Regions from separate parts of the Homo sapiens genome. Here region 2 is linked to region 1. The links are contacts of gene promoters, found by promoter capture Hi-C in blood cells and fetal thymus (Javierre and others, 2016). All regions are on one chromosome and are shown on one strand. Each heading gives the region's core, a stretch centred on a gene start or on the middle of the fragment in contact. The rest is flanking DNA. Distances are from core to core; before and after follow the strand shown. Region 1 holds the start of CALHM6 (calcium homeostasis modulator family member 6). Region 2 overlaps HDAC2 (histone deacetylase 2).

The links. The method cuts DNA at HindIII sites, captures the fragments that hold promoters and counts their contacts. A CHiCAGO score of 5 or more calls a contact.
Region 2: a fragment that was not itself captured here is called in contact with the fragment with the promoter of CALHM6 in region 1 in 1 of 17 cell types (neutrophils); the score reaches 6.4 in neutrophils.

Annotation. Positions count from the first base shown.
Region 1 is chr6:116,456,253-116,462,624 of GRCh38, forward strand. It overlaps CALHM6 (calcium homeostasis modulator family member 6), which reads left to right and starts at 5,123. Exons shown (of 3, transcript NM_001010919.3): 1 at 5,123-5,177; 2 at 5,620-6,202. The coding sequence starts at 5,678. CALHM6-AS1 (CALHM6 antisense RNA 1) reads right to left here. Exons shown (of 2, transcript NR_174951.1): 2 at 4,226-4,942. It also overlaps the pseudogene KRT18P22. RefSeq lists enhancers at 5,529-5,638, 5,649-5,728 and a silencer at 6,109-6,188. The HindIII fragment of the contact is 9,761 bases long and covers 1-6,372 here.
Region 2 is chr6:113,959,636-113,966,007 of GRCh38, forward strand. It overlaps HDAC2 (histone deacetylase 2), which reads right to left. Exons shown (of 14, transcript NM_001527.4): 2 at 271-383. Among named protein-coding and RNA genes, the nearest start is that of HDAC2-AS2, 6.9 kb to the right of the region's middle. The HindIII fragment of the contact is 6,420 bases long and covers 627-6,372 here.

The sequences.
Region 1 (6,372 bases), core at 3,873-6,372:
GGTAAATGCCAAGCTGTAACCAATCAGGCTGTTTCTATACCTCACTTCCATTTTCTGTACGTCACTTTCCTTTTTCTGTCTATAAATCTTCCACGGGATTCTCTCTGAGCCTACTCTGGCTCAAGAGGCTACCAGATTCATGAATCATTCTTTGCTCAATTAAACTCTGTTAGATTTAATTTGGCTATGTTTTTTCTTTTAACAGAGTTAAAATAACTATCTGCTGCAAGAACAAAAATTAGTGTGTTAATCAATAAGTACTTAAACTTTTGTGATAGGCTTAGGAAATTCACACTAAGAGAGGAATAAAAATCTTTAAAAGGCTTTTTTGAAATGTCATGGGATTGCCATTTAACAAATGACATCTCTGTGCCAAGGAAAGGGTCTGATCTTTCCCTCCTTCTGCTTTACACTTCCATTGGAAAAAACTTTTATAAACGTTTAAAATATCTGAAGACAACAGCATGTTCCAGATTTTCAAATATGTTATCTAACATGAGCAATATATCCACAAATTTTAACATTCAGAAAGATATTCCCTTTAAGACTAGGAGTGTCAGATTTTGTAAACTAACTTTTTAATTTGGCATCTGGCATTTCTTCTTGCATATGTTACCTAAGATATTTGAATATTAATTTGATTTTACTCTTTTTGGAGGGTCTTGGGGCCAAGATTAATGTTGTATAAGAATCCAGCAGTCATATTCCAAGCAGGGTCATGCCATTAGTCTGTATTCTTATGAGAGCCGCAGAGAACAATGTTTGAGAACTAGCACACATGAAGACAATTGCAAGACACTTTCAGATTCACAGTGTGTATGTGCATTTCCTTTCAAGAAGTTCCTTTTCCAAGAAATGTTCTGTGGTTTCTGAAACCCATTCCTGACATTGAAAATGATAGTGCTGAAAAAGTACTACAGTTAAAGGAAACCAAAGGGAACCCATAACCATTGGCTTTACACTGTGCTTAATGTGAGACTCTACTACTCATTTCTTTTTATTTTTTATTTTTGACCTCTGAACTTTTTATTGGCCTCCTGCTCCTCGAAGGGTCCCCTACTTCTGCTGGCTTAATGTCTCAGAACTTTGGTGTCATTGGTCTCAGACACCACTTCGCCATCCACTATTGGGCGGGTGGTGTCTTTTGGATGGTTTGCATGGAGTTGCTGTTGTCCAGGGCATCACCAAGATTGAAGTCCTCGCCATCTTCCAGCAGGCATTGGTAGGTGGCAATCTGAGTCTCCAGCTTGACTTTGATGTCCAGCAGGGCCTCGTACTGCTGGGCCTAGTGCTGTCCCTCTGCCTGGGTCTGTGCCAGCTCTGACTCCAGGTGCAGCAGGATCCCATTGAGCTGTTCCATCTGCAGGGCATAGCAGGCCTCCACCTCCCTCAGGCTGCTTTCCAAGCGGCCTTCAGATTTCTCATGGAGTCCAGGTCGATCTCCAAGGAATGGATTGTACATCTCAGCTCTGTGAGCGTCATCTCAGCAGCTCCAACCTCGGTGGACTGAGTGGTGGCCACTGTGGTGCTCACCTCAATCTGCTGAGACCAGTACTTGTCCAGCTCCTCTTAGTTCTTCCGAGCCAGCTCGTCATATTGGGCCCAGATGTCTTCCATGATCTTGGCAAGGTCCTGAGATTTGGGGGCATCTACCTCCACGGTCAGCCCAGAGCTGGCAGTCTGGGCTTGTAGGCCTTTACTTCCTCTTCATGGTTCTTCATGAAGAGCAGCTGCTTTTTGAGAGCCTCGATCTCTGTCTCCAGCTGCAGCCGAGTGACATTGGTGTCATCAATGACCTTGTGGACCCCATGGATGTCGCTCTCCACAGACTGGCACATGGGCAGCTCTGTCTCATACTTGACACTGAAGTCATCAGCAGCAAAACAGGCATTGATTTGCAGAACGATGCGGGCATTGTCCACAGTATTTGTGAAGATCTGAGCCCTCAGGTCCTGATGGTCATGAAGTAATGGCTCCAGTCTCTGGCCTGGGGTCCCTTCTTCCCCAGGTGCTCCCGGATTTTGCTCTCCAGCTTCCAGTTCTCGGTCTCCAGGCTCCTCACTCTGTCCAGGTAGGAGGCCAGACAGTCGTTCAGGCTTTGCATGGTCTCCTTCTCATTCTGGATGCCTGCTATCCCTGCCAGACCCCTGGCCATCCCTGCAGCCAGGCCCCCGGATCCCATGCCGCCCCAGAAGCTGGTGGAGCGGGACACAGAGATCCGGGAACCAGAGTCCTGGGTGCCTGCATAGACACTGGCTGCACTGCTGACCAGCTGGGCGATGAAGCTGGGTGTCTGGACAGAGCCCAGGGAATGGTAGTTGGTGGAGAAGGTGGAGCAAGTGGTGAAGCTCATACTGTCCAGGGAGGAGAGCAAGAGGACAGGACTCAGGCTTTACCGATGACATTCTACTACTCATTTCTTAACAGCTGAAGCAAATCACAGGCTTTCAAAAGTGTAAAGACATTTAAAATATTATTTAGTCTACCTCTCCACACCATTAGGGTGTTAGTCAATTTCCACTAAGGGCTGAACTTCTGAGCAATATCCTCTCAGAACAGACCTGGGTATGGAGGGCTGGGAATCTTCAATAGACCCAGAGCTAGAACCAGTCAATCCAGTGGTGGTGGGAGTGGATGGCAGGGTACTAGACTCAAGACCAAGTGCTGGGGAAACATTCAGGCTGGCAGGCAAAACCTGGACTCTCAATTATAGAAACCTGTACTAAGTTCTGAATGATCATTGCATCTGGGAGAGTTGGGTTTGGGAGAGCACAGAAGTAGCAAACCCAGGAGGTGGTGTTTAGAGACACAAGCTGACAAGACAATATGTCAGGATGCAGCTCAGTCTGTGAAAGTTTCAGAGGCAGAATTGCAGACTACATATTCTGGTCTGTGAAGCACCTAAACCTGACCTTCCACTTGCAGCTTTGGCCTCATGATGTGCCAACTTGCCTGTCATTCTCAATGCTCCCATCACTCTAGCCTTCTTTCTAACCAAGCTCCTTTGTACTCCAGACTCATTCAGATTAAATGTCAGTTTCTCACAGAGGCTCTTTCAGGACACTCTCTAACTCCAATTTATCCTGTGCGTAATCTTTAGGACCCCTCCTCTCCATTTCCTATATCATCTCTACTGTAAGTTCAAAGACGGCAGGATACCTGTGTCTTCTTCCTTGTTGTATCCAGCAATACCAGGCACTTTTGATAGGTACTTGACATATTCTGAGTACTTATTAAACATTTAAATGAATGACTGAATGAACAAATGAACTAATTAATAACTGGTTAACAAATGAATTAATCTAGTTGGGGAAGGGGGCTGATAGATAAAAGTTTCTGTAAGTAAACATATTTCAAACAAATCCTTGACTAAATAACAGAAGCCAGGGAAGAGAAGGTGATGGACTTCATTAGAGTCTTAAAAAATGAAGGGAATGAAAACAGACCATAGGAATGAGGTGAAGGAGGAGATGGTGCTGATTAGATTGAGCCTCAGTGGATGATAAACTATTATAGCACAGTGGTAAAACCCTGGTATGGCTATCAGCAGGTAACCAGGAAAATGCCAGCCATCCCTCTTGGTTTGAGAGATGTGGGAGAATAAATTAATCTCACTCAAGAAGACAGAAGGATGCATTTTTATTAGGTTTCGGTTAGGGGAGATTTGGATAAAGCCATCTGCACAAAGGTTGTGGATATAGTGATGTTTCTGCATGATGGAATATGGGAAAGGGTGGACGAGAGAGGACACATCTTAGAGTATTATGGTAGAGGTGAAGAAGAGTCCAGCAGTAAGAGGAGAGTTACTCAAGGCACAGGGGAAGAAATTTATCTTGGGAGATGACAAATTACAAAGATAACAGTCAGAGCAGAAGTGATTCGCTTCAAACACGCAACTTTGCTGCAAGTTGACAGGAAGCCTAGCAGTATCTGGTCTAATCTCAGAGAAGAGGGCCCCAACTTTCCTGCATGACCATGAAGACCCTCATCTGGGGCTGGCCCCTAAACACATAGAAAAAAGATGTCTATTTACCACATCACTATGGAATGACAGCTTTTGGCACTACGCTAGGCACCCTGCTGGTGGTGTTGGAGAGGGAGTAGTTAAGAAGGCAAGTTGGACTAAGAAAAGAATAATACATTTCTTGTCCATTCTCTAAAAATTCACTTGGTTCCATGGGCTACCTATTCTTTCCAGATAAAATAAGGCAAGCCTGGTGGATGGGCACCAATAAGAACCATTTCATTGTGAACTGCCCACCCAAGCTCCATATCCAGATACTCTCCTTGTGGTGAAGCAGACAGCTAAGGTGTACACCAATTCTCTTAAGGTAGCAGAGTCATTGAGTCACTTAATACTATCCACTGAATTGATCCTCGTTTAAAATTCAAAATTCAGTATTCATCAAGATTCTTAGGTTATGTACAATGTAATTATTTGTTGTCTATTCCCCAAATTGCATTTTAAGGGGAAAACTCTCACACTGATCATTCATTTAACAGACATATCCTATATGTAAAGGCACTTTACATATGCTACTCAATCTACTCATGTCAGTAATCTTGAAAAGTGGGCACTATTATCCTTCTTTTACAAATAAGGATGCTGTGTCTCAGAGGGGCATACTTGTTAAACACACCACAGACAAGATGCACTTGACTTCAAAGCCCATGTTCTTTCAAGCACACCTCAGCTCAGTCTGGAGTCACACAGAGTAAGGCTCAATATCACAAAAGTGGTTACAGTGTTTGTGTCAGAACAACGCTGCTTGAGAAAACTGAAGGTGGAGGAAACAACATTAGATAGATGTAGCTGCAGTTTGAAATTTTGGGTTCAACTAGCATTCTTTGAATAATCATGTATCCCCTTCTGTGCAGATCAGCTTGGTGGTCAGAGTCAGAATTTTACTCTCCTCCAGGCATTGACAGTGTTATGACATATCTGAAAGAAAAGAACATTGTATTGACGAGTAAATCAATACAGTATATTTGGTCTAATGTCCTGAAGGAGATCAGGCAGAGGAGAGAAGAGTCAGTGTGAACTAGGCTGGTGGCTCTGTCCGGTAGGGAGATGGAAAGGGTGCCGCCCATCATAGAAGTACCAGAACTTGAGCTGGACTTTGCTGATTTAGCTTATGGAAGAGGAACCAGAAATTTGTCCTTGAATAATGTTTCCCGTAAGTAATCAGTTTTTTGATAATTATTTGGTTTTACTGTGATCTGGCTTAGTAACTAGGGTGGCTGCAATAGAGGAAAATCTGGTATTTCCCAGTTTTTCCAACTGGCGGCCGTGGGTCAAGAAGGTTAGTTTCCTGGTTCGTTGTCAGATTGGTGGTAATAAAGGAACAAGGTCAACCTTCTGTCAGAGTTCCTGAATTGGGGGAGGAAGATAACTGGTGCCTCTGCCTTTGGAATGGGGTGGGTGCCAGAGAAGTCAAGGTCCTGGGGGTGTTTGCTTGCCTGGTTCTGTTAACCAGAGGTGGTGTGGCTGAAATGAGAAAGTGAAACTTTAGGAAGGTCTGAGAAGCCCTCTTCCCTTTAAAAAAAAAAAAAAAAAGGCTGCTTCTCGCAGAGTGGAAAGCCCCGGTCCCCATCCCACCAAAACCATTTGACAAGCAGGACAACGAAGAGGCAGAAGGATCTGGGCCTGTGCGCGACGCCCCGGGGGACGAGGCTCATGGAGAAGTTTCGGGCGGTGCTGGACCTGCACGTCAAGCACCACAGCGCCTTGGGCTACGGCCTGGTGACCCTGCTGACGGCGGGCGGGGAGCGCATCTTCTCCGCCGTGGCATTCCAGTGCCCGTGCAGCGCCGCCTGGAACCTGCCCTACGGCCTGGTCTTCTTGCTGGTGCCGGCGCTCGCGCTCTTCCTCCTGGGCTACGTGCTGAGCGCACGCACGTGGCGCCTGCTCACCGGATGCTGCTCCAGCGCCCGCGCGAGTTGCGGATCGGCGCTGCGCGGCTCCCTGGTGTGCACGCAAATCAGCGCGGCCGCCGCGCTCGCGCCCCTCACCTGGGTGGCCGTGGCGCTGCTCGGGGGCGCCTTTTACGAGTGCGCGGCCACCGGGAGCGCGGCCTTCGCGCAGCGCCTGTGCCTCGGCCGCAACCGCAGCTGCGCCGCGGAGCTGCCGCTGGTGCCGTGCAACCAGGCCAAGGCGTCGGACGTGCAGGACCTCCTGAAGGATCTGAAGGCTCAGTCGCAGGTCTGCCGCTGGCGCTGGGGGCGTTTGGGAGGAGCCGAGAGGCCGAGCTTTCTCAGGGCCGCTGGGGTGAGGGAAAAATCGGTGACTTTTCTCCAGATATACAGTACCCTAAGAAAATCTAGAATGGCTCCTTGCATCTAATTTGCCGTCAAGAGAATATCTGAATAAAA
Region 2 (6,372 bases), core at 2,587-5,086, 2.5 Mb before region 1:
CTGAGTTGTTGCTATACTGAGTTGTTCTCCAGAACCATGAAAGCCTAGGGTAGGGGGAACTTTTTTAAATGGTTAAAGGAAAAGGAAAAAGAGGGTATAGCTCTCATTCTTATTCATCTCCTAAGAATAAACGAAAAAAGAAGTTTGTTTTCTTCCAGATCTTTTCATCTGCTAAATGCCCTCAAAAGGGGAATAATAGACAAAGTTTCACAGTAGCTAAAAAAAAATAAAAAAGATCAGTGCTGAATATGTATTAAAAGGAATACTCACATATATTTCCATTTTTCTGTATAAGCCATAATTTAACAGCAAGTTATGGGTCATGCGGATTCTATGAGGCTTCATGGGATGACCCTGTCCATAATAATAATTTCCAATATCACCTAAAATAGAAAAGACACAAACTAAACAATACAGACAAGAGACCCTCCATGAACTATTTGAATTTATGTATGTCTATCATTAGAAGGCATTTACTACTTAACAAAATTTATTTAAAACCTTAGCAACTTAGATTTATTTTGCAACTTTCAAACTGTATCAGATGACTAAGACGCTACGCACACTTTTACCAGCTGAAGACTCCATTATTACACATTATATTTATTTGTAGATTAAGGAAAGCAAGCTTTTCTGATTTTTAGCTACCCCCAATTTTTAAAATTTCTGTTCCTTGAAATGATGCCTGCTTTCTGTATTCTCTGGCAAATTCACATGCTTTTAAGTTCTCTGAGTTTTATTGGTATGATTTAAAATTTTTTCAGCAAATACTGCTTTTTGGATGATTTGCTGGCATTTCAGAAATCTCATAATTGGCGTTTTGCATGTTAAAACATACCGTGTCCATATTAAAGCCCATCAGGGAAGTTTTGGTAACTGAAATTTAGGTCCTAAATGAGGTTTTGCTCCACTAAGACACAGCATTACATTTTTCAAGGTAATAAAAATACTGTCTCATTCTTCATGACTAAAAAGTTGTAATTCCTAGCCTGTCTTTTTAAACGGCATCTTATATCACAATGTCTTTAAACTTATGCATAAGATTTAAAAAAGAGAAAATAACAAAATCACAGATTTTCATCAACTAAATTTCAATAAAATTAATACTTTTAGGTAAAGCTCCAGTGTTTCCTATAATAGTAAATAACAAGAAGCCTCTCAAATATATAAAGTCAACCCTCTGTATCTGTGGATTCAATCAACTGCAGACTGAAAATATTTTTAAAAAATAGATGGTGGTGTCTGCTGGAAACACGTAGAGACTTTTTTTCCTTGTAATCTTCCCCTAAATCATACAGTGTAACAACTATTTACACTGCATTTGCATTGTATTAGGTATTATGAGTAATCTAGAGATGACTTAAAGTGTAAGGGGAGATATACATAGGTTATATGCAAATACTATACCAGTTTATTGAAGGAACTTAAACACCCATGAATTTTGCTATCTGTGGAAGTCTTGGAACTAATTCCCCACAGGGTCAGGACAGTCAAGCTATTTTAATGGTTTGAAGTCTATCATTTCAACACGGGTTTATATATTACAATAAAAGCTAGAATAAAAAATGCAATTTATCCACTAAATCTTTCAAAGTCCTCCCTAAATACACCTTTTGTTTGTTTAATGGAAACAACCCCAAAAACTTTTTTGTCCTCTCTCCTACATATTTGATAACAGTACGGGATAAACAATCAGCTTTTACAAAATCCATGCTTCTAATAACATAAATACTTGATTTTGTTGGTATCACACCTCTAATTTTAGTTAACTTCATTTTCAGCACAGCTCTCTTCTGAAAACAATTCATATACAAAGTCTTTTAAAGGGAAAGCCACCTTTTTAATGCAGGTGCCAACAAGGCTAAGAAACAATATAGAGTTTAGCAAAGCAGGGCCATGGCCCTTTGCAACATTCCTCTGCAATTATAATTAAGAGGCTATGATTGCAGAAAATAAACTACCTATTAAGAAAGAATCTACCATAAAGCTCTACCTTACATGGTGACAATACAAGGGATATATAGTTCCTTGAAAGCAGCCTGGTCTCATCATTTCTTAGATATGGAAAACCCACTAGTGTTATTACAAAGCATCATGTAATTAAATTAATACAAGGGAAGGCATTTCTTAGTTATCACTACTAAAGAAATCATTAAAGTAAAAATAATGAAAGTCTAGTCTTCACTAGAAATGCAGATTCTATGAGGTTTCGTGGGATGACCCTGCCCATAATAATTTCCAATATCACCTAAAACAGAAAAGACACAAACTAAACAATAACTTCCATCTATCTGCCTCTGTGTAACAATTACCCAAATGAAATGTCTCTAACATCTACCACATCATAACATCAAATACTCTAGTTATTTGATGCACACTGAAAATCCAGTGAAAAGCCCCAGGCCCCAATAATTGGAGACTACAGTAGCAATTTCTGAGCAAGTGTGTTTGAAAAAAAAAAAAAGCAGTAATTAACACTTGTTGAGTGCTTACTAGAAGGCACTATTAAGTACTTCACATATCTTTTAATCTTGTCAATAACCTTATGATGTGGGTATTATTACATTATTCCTATTGTATAATAGTAAAGAAGGATGAGAAACAGACAAGTCAGGTATTATTGCCTAAGTCACATAGCCAGCAAGTGGAGGAGCTAGATTCAAACTCTGGCAGGGCAGCTCACAGCTAATGTTCTTAAGTAATAACAACAGGGAATGTCAAGGACACTTACAGATTCACTAGAAATGGCAGGGTGAAGGCTGAAAAAAAGACATAATATGAAATATAAATATTTTAAATAAAGGCTTAGGGTCTTGGTTAATTTAAAGAAAATGAACACAAGAAACTGTACCTAATATATCAGAGTAATTTACTTTTTACTAATAGGGTCCTCAAATCGTATACGAATACGCATAGCTTTCAACAAGTTTCTCTGTTGAAATTTAGGGACCCCAGTCCCACAAAGAATACACAAAGAACCTAAATGATACATGTATACAGGGCAGCCAAGCTACAGATAATTTTTTGGTTTACCAAGAATTCTTCTAGCTGGGCGTGGAGGCTCACACCCGTAATCCCAGTACTTCGGGAGGCCGAGGCGGGCAGATCACGAAGTCAAGAGATCGAGACCTTCCTGACAAACATTGTGAAACCCCGTCTCTACTAAAAATACAAAAAAAAAAGCCAGGTGTGGTGGCATGCGCCTGTAGTCCCAGCTGCTCAGGAGGCTGAGGCAGGAGAATCACTTGAACCCAGGAGGCGGAGGTTGCAGTGAGCCGAGATCGTGCCACTGCACTCCAGCCTGGGTGACAGAGCGAGACTCTGTATCAAAAAAAAAAAAAAAAAAGAATTCTTCTAAAATATAAAGGCGTTATAAAATAACCATCTCCAACTTTTTCCCACTAATTCTGTATCTCACAATTCTCTAGATGGCTACTTTGTAGGCATCCACTTTGTTTTCTTTTTGAGATGGAGTTTCGCTCTTGTCACCCAGGCTGGAGTGCGGTGATGTGATCTTGGCTCACTGCAACCTCCACCTCTGGGGTTCAAGCAATTCTCCTGCCTCAGCCTCCCAAGTAGCTGGGATTACAAGCGCCCACCACCATACCCGGCTAATTTTTGTATTTTTAGTAGTGACGGGGTATCTCCATATTTGCCAGGCTTGTCTCAAACTCCTGACCTCAGATGATCTGCCCGCCTCAGCCTCCCAAAGTGCTGGGATTACAGATGTGAGCCACTGTGCCCAGCCCACTTTTTCATAAAGTATAAAAAGGCTAAGAAGTTTTAAGACCCTACAATTTTTATTCATCATTTAAATGGTCAGTAATGTATTAATAATTTGGGCATTTTAAATGTTACTGATTTGCATCAAAATACAGATTATCCCTAATCCAAAAATTTGATATCCAAAATGTTCCAAAATCTGAACTGTTTTGAGCACCAACTTAATAGTCAAGGAAATGCTAACTGGAGCATGTCAAATTTTTGATTTTCGAATTAGGGATGCTAACTGGTAAATAATTACAAATATTGCAAAACCTCCCCAAATCTGAAATACTTCTGGTCCCAAGAATTCAGATAAAGGATATTCAACCTGTACATAAAAATACTTTACCAATGAAATAAACATTCAGAAAAATCAGCTCAAGGTGGTTCCTTGAACACAACAAACTTTAATTGTCAATGCAAAGAAATTACTGTAAAGAATTATTTATCTGCAAAATTTTACAAATTGCTCACTCTTCAAGAAACTAACAGAATGGAAGTGTCTACTAAGGTCCACAATCTCTTATCCATATTCCTTCAAATTAGATATGTTTCAAATTTTACACTTTTTCAGATTTTGTAGAGATAATATGGTACACCTGCCATATATTATGTAATAGCCTAGAGTTTGGGTGGCATGATATAATCAAACATTAATATTTCTACAGCAAAAAAGTGTGAATATTCACGGTATTCACAGAGGAATAAAGATCATAAATAGCCTCACATTGATTCAGGTTAAGATTTTGATTCCAAATGAGTTACCAAAATTTTTTTCAATTTTCAGGTCATTTTGGATTTCAGAACTGTGAAATGTACCTTTAGCCACAAAGATAAGTTGACTGCAAAAAGAGACTCAGGAAAAAAAAAACAAGAGAAAAGAAAAAAGTTTATTATTTTCATCTTCCAGACTACTTAGCCCACTATCCATTTTTTATACATATTAACACATCTTTAATACATATTTCAAGGAGGTTATTCCTCCTTGAGACATTCGGAGCCTTGGCTTCCATAATACCATTTTCTTGGGATTTTACTTGTACCCCAAGGCCACTCCTCCACCAACCTTTAAACATCAAGGGTTTTCAGTTCAGCCATTCATTTAATAAATCAAGAGCCTACCATGTGCCAAGCAGGTACTGTTCTAAGGGTTTGGGTTCATCAGTGAACAATAGTTCTGCCCTAAATTCTCTTCTCTCGGGAGTTAAGTCCTGGGACCAGTCGTCTGTCTATGCTGTATCTTTTTCAGTCTCAATACTTCACCTGATATAAGCTGAGAAATCCCAAATTTCTATGTCTAGACTCTCCTCTCTGGATTATAAACTCACAGAGGTTAACTCTCTTCTCAGTCTTTTCACTTGAATTCAATAAGGATCTCAAATATAAGATGTTCAAAACAGAGCTCTTTATTTGTATTCCCAATCTTAGTGAGTAGTACCACATACCACCTAACTGCTCAATCCAGAAACTTAGGAGTCATCCTTCATTCTCTAACACCATTCCTCAGCTCCAACTCCATTTCTAATCCATCAAAAAGTTCTATTGGTTTGAGGCCCAAATCTCTCTTAAATATGTCTATTTCTATCTAAAATGCAACCATTACATTTTATATGGACCAATATGTGTTCAATTCTTGCTTCCAGCCTATATTCCACAACTCCTTACCAATTATTTTGAGAGAATGCATTCTATTTGAGAAACTTTCAATGGCTTTCCACCTCTGGGTAAAGTCAAATTTCTTACTACACAGTTTTGTGCAGTCCCACTTTTTACTGCCTAACATGGGACTCCACATTTTCCTTGTCTTCCTTCCCATTAAGTGCACCAAGTTCTATTAATAACTATCTGGCTTTGCTATTTGTAATATCTTATGTAGTAAACTCTTTTTAAGGCTGGCCCATTCTCTTCCTTCAGGTCTTCCCTTTTCTGATTACACTATCAAAGGTCCCCTCTCTTTTACTTTTTTTGTTTTTTTTTTTGAGACAGAGTCTTGCTCTTGCCACCCACCCAGGCTGGAGTGCAATGGCATGATCTCGGCTCACTGCAACCTCTCTGCCTCCCGGGTTCAAGCGATTCTCCTGCCTCAGCCTCCCAAGTAGCTGGGATTACAGGCACCCGTCACCATGCCCAGCTAACTTTTTTTTGTATTTTTAGTAGAGAGAGGGTTTCGCCATGTTGGCCAGGCTGGTCTCAAACTCCTGACCTTGTGATCTGCCCGCCTCGGCTTCCCAAAGTGCTGGGATTATAGGCGTGAGCCACTGCACCCGGCCCCCTCTCTTACTTTATACCTGCAGTCTTTTATTTCCTTCTTAGGACTTGAGCAATCTTTTGTCTATTTGGCACACAGTAGGAACTTTAAGCCTATTTGATATGTCTGAACCCAAAGCTGGCTTAATGAACAAGTAACAATAAGCAGACTGCTACTGAAATACAGAGGAATAAGGCTTAATAACCAGTACAAAAAAATCCTTAGACTTGATTTGAATTCTTCCAAGTTTGAATTTATTAACATTCCCTAAGAGATGCCTTCTCCAATCCCAAGTGTTTTCCTTTAAGGACTTGTCAACAGAAGCATTTAAAGTTTTTGTTAAGGAGTTTTGTTTGTTT